Regions from separate parts of the Homo sapiens genome. Here regions 2 and 3 are each linked to region 1. Evidence: promoter capture Hi-C in 16 types of primary human blood cells and fetal thymus (Javierre and others, 2016). All regions are on one chromosome and are shown on one strand. Each heading gives the region's core, a stretch centred on a gene start or on the middle of the fragment in contact. The rest is flanking DNA. Distances are from core to core; before and after follow the strand shown. Region 1 holds the start of UBE2D1 (ubiquitin conjugating enzyme E2 D1). Region 2 has its middle 78 kb from the start of IPMK. Region 3 has its middle 100 kb from the start of IPMK.

What was found. Contacts are between HindIII fragments. The CHiCAGO score rates a contact against its expected background, and 5 or more counts as called.
Region 2: a contact is called between a fragment that was not itself captured here and the fragment with the promoter of UBE2D1 in region 1, in 1 of 17 cell types (monocytes). The highest score is 6.5, in monocytes.
Region 3: a fragment that was not itself captured here is called in contact with the fragment with the promoter of UBE2D1 in region 1 in 1 of 17 cell types (neutrophils); the score reaches 5.3 in neutrophils.

The regions. Positions count from the first base shown.
Region 1 is chr10:58,333,715-58,336,414 of GRCh38, reverse strand. UBE2D1 (ubiquitin conjugating enzyme E2 D1) reads right to left here and starts at 1,409. Exons shown (of 7, transcript NM_003338.5): 1 at 1,190-1,409. The coding sequence starts at 1,213. RefSeq lists a silencer at 1,025-1,544 and enhancers at 1,352-1,646, 1,245-1,745. The HindIII fragment of the contact is 6,404 bases long and covers 1-2,700 here.
Region 2 is chr10:58,188,308-58,191,007 of GRCh38, reverse strand. No RefSeq gene overlaps it. Among named protein-coding and RNA genes, the nearest start is that of IPMK, 78 kb to the left of the region's middle. The HindIII fragment of the contact is 2,947 bases long and covers 1-2,700 here.
Region 3 is chr10:58,163,487-58,166,186 of GRCh38, reverse strand. No RefSeq gene overlaps it. Among named protein-coding and RNA genes, the nearest start is that of IPMK, 100 kb to the left of the region's middle. The HindIII fragment of the contact is 3,813 bases long and covers 1-2,700 here.

The DNA of each region.
Region 1 (2,700 bases), core at 160-2,659:
CGTACGTCACTATCACTGCTCTAACATATACTATTGCTATAATGGACTCCTGGTCAAAAAAGTGGATAAAAATGTGGGCATCAATTTCTTCTGAAACAACTACAAAATACACTGTCCATTGTTGCTTAACTTAGTGAAAAGCACTCCCTATTTAACAAACACATTCTCAATGTTGCCAGTGTGAACTGTAACTGTAAAACCTAAAACTTGGGTCAGTACACAGACCAACAAGAAATAAAAATGAACAGAAAGAAATGCCCGAATCTGAATTCTGAAGGATGTTCGCATCTGAAATGGTGGCAATAAATACTGTGAAAAAAAGACGATTCCATACACAGGGTTGAGATGGGTAAACAGTTGTTGGATGAAGATATATATTTCTTCCTCATTCTATACCCATGTGTCAAAGCATCAAAACAATTTATTTGCGACAGTTTATGTTGTGTCTCGAACTTTACATCTAAGTTTATCATGAGGGGGAAAAAAACCTGTTTGGCTTGACTCACCGTGAATCACAGCCAGGAGGTCATCTTGTTGTGTATCAGCAACTATGTTTTCGCTACAGCTATGTGACCTGAAGTGGCAGCAGCAGAGGCACCAAAATAGAAGGGGCAGGAGCCTTCTCCTGACTTCTTGGCCGCAAATGGGCTTTCCAGCCCATTCGGGCAACTGAGCAAGAGCCAACCGCAGAGGAGAGAAAGAACCAACCCGACAGCTCCGCGGAGAAAGGCTGCAGGCCCACCCCACCTTCCTTGCCCTCCCGGGGAGGCCGGGTAAGCAAGAACATAAAAGAGGACAGGCTTAAGAAACAGCCTGGAGAAAACACAGCATGACAGGGGTCAAAACTAGCCCCATGGAGGGCAAAACCCGGCCGTGACCGTGAAGCACAGATTTCGGGACGGTCTGGACGCGCAAGAGGCTCTCTACCCTGGGGCTCCGGGAGCGGCTCCGGCGCGAACGCGCGCGGGCCCCCAGCCTTCAAGCTCCTCCGGCCGCCTGGGACCTGACCCTGCTCCCACCTCACCTGTCCGATGCCCGCTGGCCCGGCCCGAGCCTTCAGCTCCCTGCCCGCACCCCGGCCCACCCTTCCATCCCTTGCTCTCCCCGCATGTCTCTCGGGACCACTGGCCGAGTCAGCGTGGGCAGGGGGCCGCTGCCCCGCAGCCCCAGGCCCGGCCCCGGCACTCACTTTCTGAATCCTCTTCAGCGCCATGGGTCAGGGATGGCGGTGGGGACACCGGCCGGCAGGGGTCGGCTGCGGGGCTCAGGGGCGTGGGTCGTCGCGGGTTGGGCTCGCTGGCAGCTAGGCTGGCTCCGCGCGGTGGGTCCCCGGTTAGCCGCTCCCTGGCTCGCTCCGGGCGCCGGTCCCTGCTCCGTGTGCGCCCGAGCGCGAGTGTGCGCGAGTGTGCGGGCGGGGACGCCGGCGAGACTCTTTTGTTTCCGCTTTTGCTTCTGGGAAGGAGCCTGCGCCCTCCCCGCCGCGCCCCGCCCCGCCTGGCACACTGGGAAGTGTAGTTCCAGCCCTGTCCTCGGCTGCAGGCCCCCGGACGCTGCCAGGTAACTTACTGCTGACCTCAGCCAGGCAGCTTAAGGTGAGAGCTGCCGGGGGCTGGAATTAGCCTCTACAGTCTCATTTAGAGCAAATTGCTGAACCTGGGGCTGCGCATCTGTAAAATGGGGATAACAAATGAGCTCCTAACGCACATAAAGGAATTTCTAAATCATCAGTTAGTAATTCCTTATCCAATAGGTGCCACAGCTGGTTTTATTATTTTTACCTTTAAAGATTTCACTGTCTTTTCTCAAATATATGGATTGTCTCACTCACCCTGCACACATGCACAAACTCATATCAGACCCCCTACTTACCTCCTTGGTTCTTATTGCAGAGGAAAAAGGTGTCTCTTCTGTCCAATGTGCAAATCTTCCTTGTCTGAGTGCATTGTCTGCTCGTAGGTATGCCCCTCCCATAAATTACCCACTTCGAACACCGAGTTCTGGGCTCTCACTCCCATCATTGGTTCCTTCCCTTCCGTTGACAGTCCCTGACCAATAGTCAACTCACGCTCCCCACTCTCCAATTCCTATGCACTTGTGTACCCATTAAAACTTGGCTTCTTGGCCAAGATGAGATTTGGGTGGGGACACAGCCAAACCATATCACTCAGGGATATAAAGATGGCAACAAATAGACACTGTGGACTACTAGAGAGGGGACCGAGGGAGCAAAGGTTGAAAAACTGTTGGGTACTATTGTCAGTACCTGGGTGATAAAATCATTCATACCACAAATGTCAGCATCACACAGCATACCCAGGTAGCAAACTTGCATATGTGGCCTCTAAATCTAAAATAAAAGTTGAAAAACAAAAACAAACAAACAAAAACAGAATCTTGAGCCCCACTCCAGACATGCTACATCACACTTTGCAGTTTAATAAGACTCCTAGGTGATTCAGATGAACATTAGGGTTTGAGAAGCACTATGCTGGAAGGCATAAGAGGAGATCCTAAAAATGCAGATTTCCTTTAAAGGATTTAATTTAGCAGTAAGTTTTGGGTGAAGCTCTGGAGTCTAAACTTTAGAACAAACTTCCCAGGAAGTTAGGATGCAGGTATCTGAGGACACTTTTGAGAATCTCCACCTTGAGCAAATCTTCAAATCCTTCTAAGCCTCAATTTCCTCACCCATAACTAATG
Region 2 (2,700 bases), core at 48-2,547, 150 kb after region 1:
AATTATGATTGACTTCTCAATATCCAGCAGGGTTGTGAAGACAGAGAAGTCATTCTATAGCATGCAAGAGGAAGAAGAGAGTGTGGTTTATAACATCATAGTGCTAAAGAAGGTTGTATTGAATTCCACCTTAATGCCTGCTTCTTTGTGAATGCTATGGGGAGGAGCAATACTATGTGATCTAGTAGTTTTTTCCCTCCTGATTAAGATAAGCTGCCTAACTGCTGAAAAGAATAACATGGAACCCCACTGCCACAGTCCCCAAGTTATAGCTAAGTGTAAAGACTAAATAAAAGCTAAAGAGAAAGAATAAAAAGTGAAAATAATTATAAAATAAGTAAAAATAATCACGTGGGGATTTTGTTCAAATGCAGATTCTGATTAAGTAGACTGGACTGGACTCTGATGCTGGTCCATGGACCACACTTTTGACTAACAAGATTTGCAACAAGTTCCTTGGAGGTAGGGTGTGCACTACCACTTGAACAGAGGCCCAACCAGAGCTGTTGGAAAGCCAAGAGAGAGTGCTGGCAACAGAAAAGGAAATGGGCTTAGAATGTGAAGAAAATACAGCCAGAAATGGCTTAATATAACGCTGGCCACTCTTAGTTGGAAGAAAAAGTTCATTGGAAAGTTAATGTCAAGGGCATTAAACCATGCCTCCTGCAACAAGTTTTGGGAGTCCTGTAATGATAAACTTGTTATTTTCTATTATTTGTGCCATTGGCCTTTTTTTATTTCTGTGTAAATAGTTACTACTTTGCCAACCTAAGAAAATAATCTGCGTATGCTTGTTAATTACATTGTAGTTGTCATCTGACAACATTCTAGAGGTGCTTTGGGCGTAAATGACATGGTACAATTGGCTCAAATGCCAAGAAATGTTGAAAACCAAGTCTTTCTAAGAGGAGCTAGGAAGGTCTTTAAAATTATTATTTAATGAAAGTTAACATAAATTGTTAAAGTGCCTTGGAATGGACTCAAGGAAAATGATGAGTGTGGAAGCATCTTGTGGAGATAGTGCACGGAGGAGTAACCAGTCTCACCTCATACACTTTAAAGATCATAGACTTCAGGTAAATAGACCTAGTTTATAGCTTTCGAGGCTTGAATCCAGTTCAAAGAACATCCTCATATTTATAAATTCATAAAGAAACTGTAATACCATAACTTTTCATTCTTACTCGTTTTAACTCTCAGTTTCCACTCTTCATAGTGGTTGGCCCTGACCCACCCAAGTTATGTCAGAGGTGGAGGGGATAATCAATCTAAATCATGGACTAGCCTGACCACTCTATCCACAATTATTGCTGCATAACACCCCGAAGTGGCAGCGTAAGTCTTAACCCCCTTTATTATTTGGATGGATCTGCAAGTTGGCTGGGCAGTTCTGCTGATCTTGGCTAGACTTATGTCTCTAGAATCAGCTGGCAGGTCATCTGGGGGTGCGGGTAGGACGATGTGTCTCATATTTCAGCAGGCTAGCCCAGGCATTTCTCTGAGTTGTAGTTAGGAGTCCAGAAGAAGAAGCTGAAAACATGCAAACAGGTTTCAAGTTTCTGTTTAAGTTTGCTACCGTTGCTGAATCCAGAGTCAGAGTGGGAGGACACTGAAGAAGGGTGTGGATACAGGGAAGTCACAGTACAATCAACCACATGCTCCAACCTCAGATTAACTCACACAGGGCACCAAGAAATTCTGTCTTGTCATAGTCCATGGCTTTATGGGGCAGCAATGTCAGAACAAGTTAGACAATGTGGATATTTAATTCTGTGGATCAGAACAGAGGCAGCAGGACAAGCAGCATATGCGAGTTTTAAAATCCCTAAAATGTTTCTTTTTTTTTTCTTTCATCCGTTACCTCTTCTAGGTAGAGCCCGCTGGGCAGTCCTAGAGTATTGCCATCTTCCACTTTAAATTATGATGTTATCGTTTGGAGAATGGTTTCGTATCCTAAGCAATCTTGTCTTATTCATGAGCTTCCTTGGTGATCAATGTCAACTGATTTTATTTCAAGTGTAAACAAACTGTTTGCTTCTATGACAGAAATTATGCAAAAGAATGCATATCTTCTACTATGTGTTGTAAACACCATTTCACTAGTTAATGTTGAAACTCTTTTCACAGATCTAGTAGTTTTAGTTCAGCTTTTAGATGAACTTGAATATGCTGTTTTATTTCCGTTTAGCTGGATTTTCATCATCCTAAATCAGAATTTCACATTAATTCGTTGTCATTTTCTCCCTGCTATTTTTTTTCTTTATAATGTACCAAAGAGGGTGAAAAGTCTTAGGAGGAATGCCTATTTATAATGTCCCTTTCCCATGAACTTCCCATTCATTTTTTCCCCAGAGGGGATACTATTAAGTTTTTACCCTGTTATTATTGGTAATAATATGTACATTTGCATATGTAATAATTGGTTTTGAATATGTTTCTTGGGGATAATAAAATTAGTAAATCTTCTTTGAAAAATGGCAACATCTAGCACTCTGGCCTTATCCAAACATGTCAGTGTGTTTATCCCTAATTTCTAGTTTCTAGCTCTAAGTAAATTTGCCTAATCTTAAGTAGGAGGATTAATCAGACCTGTGCTCAGTTACTACACAAATATGTGCTATGTAGCTTTTCCAGGCTAATTTTTACTTTTTTCCATATAGCTTTTGTAGAGACCTTGCTTTCAAAAAAGTGCTCAAGGAT
Region 3 (2,700 bases), core at 138-2,637, 170 kb after region 1:
TCATATTTTCTCTACCTGCTCTTTTGAACCTAATCCAGTCAGGAATTGCCTTGGAATAGAGGCAATGAGTCAGGTGCCCTGATGGATGCACATGCTGTTGTCTGTAGATAGACAGAAATTTTTTTTTTGATTGTTTTTAAAAAGAAAATTTAACACTTTAGGCAGGAGGCTTTCATTTTACCTGCCTTTTCTCTATCCCTCCATGGAATCAGTCTTTCCAGCACTGATAGAGTGGGCAACAGTCACATTCTGTAACTCTGTGTGACTGCCTGTTCAAGAAGCGGCTTGGAATTTGCGATGATTGCAGCATGTAAAAGTCAGCTCTGTTGTGGTGCTATAAAGAAAAGAACAGACTAAGTTGCTTTTAATGCAGACTGCAGAAAACAATACCAGGGACAGAATCAGGGGAGGGGTGTTGAAGCAGAGAGTTAGGAAAGGAAGGGAGGATAGCCACGACGTGCTCACCCACAGCTGCTCTTGGTTCCACCATTTCTTGGCTGCTTGATTGCACACAAATCACTGAACCTCTCTCTGCCTCATATCCATCTGAAAATAGGATAATAATAATAATAGTAATAGTACTAATATCTACCTTATAGACTTGTTGGGAAGATTAAGTGATTAAAAAATATTTATAGGGTGTCTGCTCTGCACAGACACCAAAATAAGCAATAAAAGTATTAACTTTTATTATTATTATGACTATAGTTATGATATAAAGAGCATCATAGGAGATGATAAGTGTTTTGGGGACAGCTGGCTTAACTCATATATTTTTTTAACTATTCTACTTCTTTAAAATCTCCTTTTATAATCCAGCAGCAAAAACACAATTATTTGATTTATTCTTATTTTTGTGAAGTAGGTAGGAAGGTATAAATGACCCCATATTTCAGGATGAGAAAAATGACTCAGAAAAGAAATAAGACAACTTATTCATAAAGACTGTAGATGGTAGGGTCAGAATGTTGATCTCAGATGATTGGACTATGAGTGATATTCACAAACGAACCAAGACAATGTGAGACAAAGACCTATGTTTCATTATGGGGGGTGGAATGAGGGATGACCAGGGGAAATGCAGTATCTCCTGTGAAAGGAGAGCTAGGATGAGGTGTCAAATTGGGTGTGTCCTCTGGAGCACAGGAAATGCAGGGACTGGACACCTGGGCATGATAAGACAGTCGCCTGACCAATTCCTGTTCACCCTTCAAGCCTCAGCTGCCAATATGTCACTTCTTGTGAGAAACCTTTTCTGATCTTCAGACTAGGTTTGGCCACCTCCTCCTTTCACAGTAGCCCCTGCTTCTCCTTGCTGCACTTTCATGTTTATAGTTGGTCTCTCCATGGATTGTCAACTTGGAGGGCAGATATTGTCATGACTATGCCCCAGGCTGAGCACTGTGACTGGCCCACAGCTGGGGCTCAGTGCATGCGATTGCTGAATGAATGAGCAAGAGGGAGGCTCGAGTGCCTAGAAAGTCGGATTGTGCTTAGTCATCTCTCAGCTTCTGTGGACTTTTGTGAAGCCTCCAGACTTAAACATCAGCTTGATTCTAGAACAAGCGTCAAGAAGAGGTACTCAATCTCCAACAGAACTGAAATTGCCATGGGTGGTTGAAGGTGAGAAGAAGTAGCAGATTTCTTTTATTGCTTAAAAATTGTCATCAGTGGTTGGGTGCGGTGGCTCACACCTGTAATCCCAGCACTTTGGGAGGCCGAGGTGGGTGGATCACCTGAGGTCAGGAGTTCAAGACCAGTGTGGCCAACAAGGTGAAACCCTGTCTCTACTAAAAGTACAAAAATTAGCTGGGCATGTTGTTGCATGCCTGTAATCTGAGCTACTCAGGAGGCTGAGGCAGGAGAATCACTTGAACCCAGGAGGTGGAGGCTGCAGTGAGCCGAGATCGCACCACTGCACTCCAGCCTGGGTGACAGAGTGAGACCCTGTCTCAAAAACAAACAAACAAACAAACAAACAAACAAACAAACAAATGTCATCAGTGTCTTCAGAACTCAGGACACAAGACGAGAAACACCAATCAGAAGTAAGGAAACACAGGTTAAACACAATGTCCTACAAATTGAGACCCAGGAAATGTAGAAGAGCTCAGCCTGCAGACCACAGAGAAAAGCAGGAAGAAATTATTTCAGGGAAAGTTTTCAGGATGGGGAGAGTCAAGAAGCATGTGCACCAGGCAAACCGTCCTGCAGGTAGGACCAACCCTTGCCAGTTTTGGAGCTGGTCGAGTCTGTTTGTGGAAACTGCAGATCCTCTTCTGGATCATCACACAAGTGTCTCGTCATCGCCCTGCTTGCCTCGCAGGTTTGATGATTCCTTTTTTTTTTTTTGGCTGGAGTGCAGTGGCGCAATCTTGGCTCACTGCAAGCTCCGCCTCCTGGGTTCACGCCATTCTCCTGCCTCAGCCTCCCGAGTACCTGGGACTACAGGCGTCTGCCACCACGCCCGGCTAATTTTTTTTTGTATTTTTTTGTAGAAACGGGGTTTCACCGTGTTAGCCAGGATGGTCTCGATCTCCTGATCTTGTGATCTGCCCGCCTCAGCCCCCAAAGTGCTGGGATTACAGGTGTGAGCCACCGTGCTCAGCGATGATTCTTTTTTTTTTAAATTCCACAACATCAATCAGATTTGGAGAACTCACATTCTTTATGAGGCTTTCCCAGAATAACATGCTCATG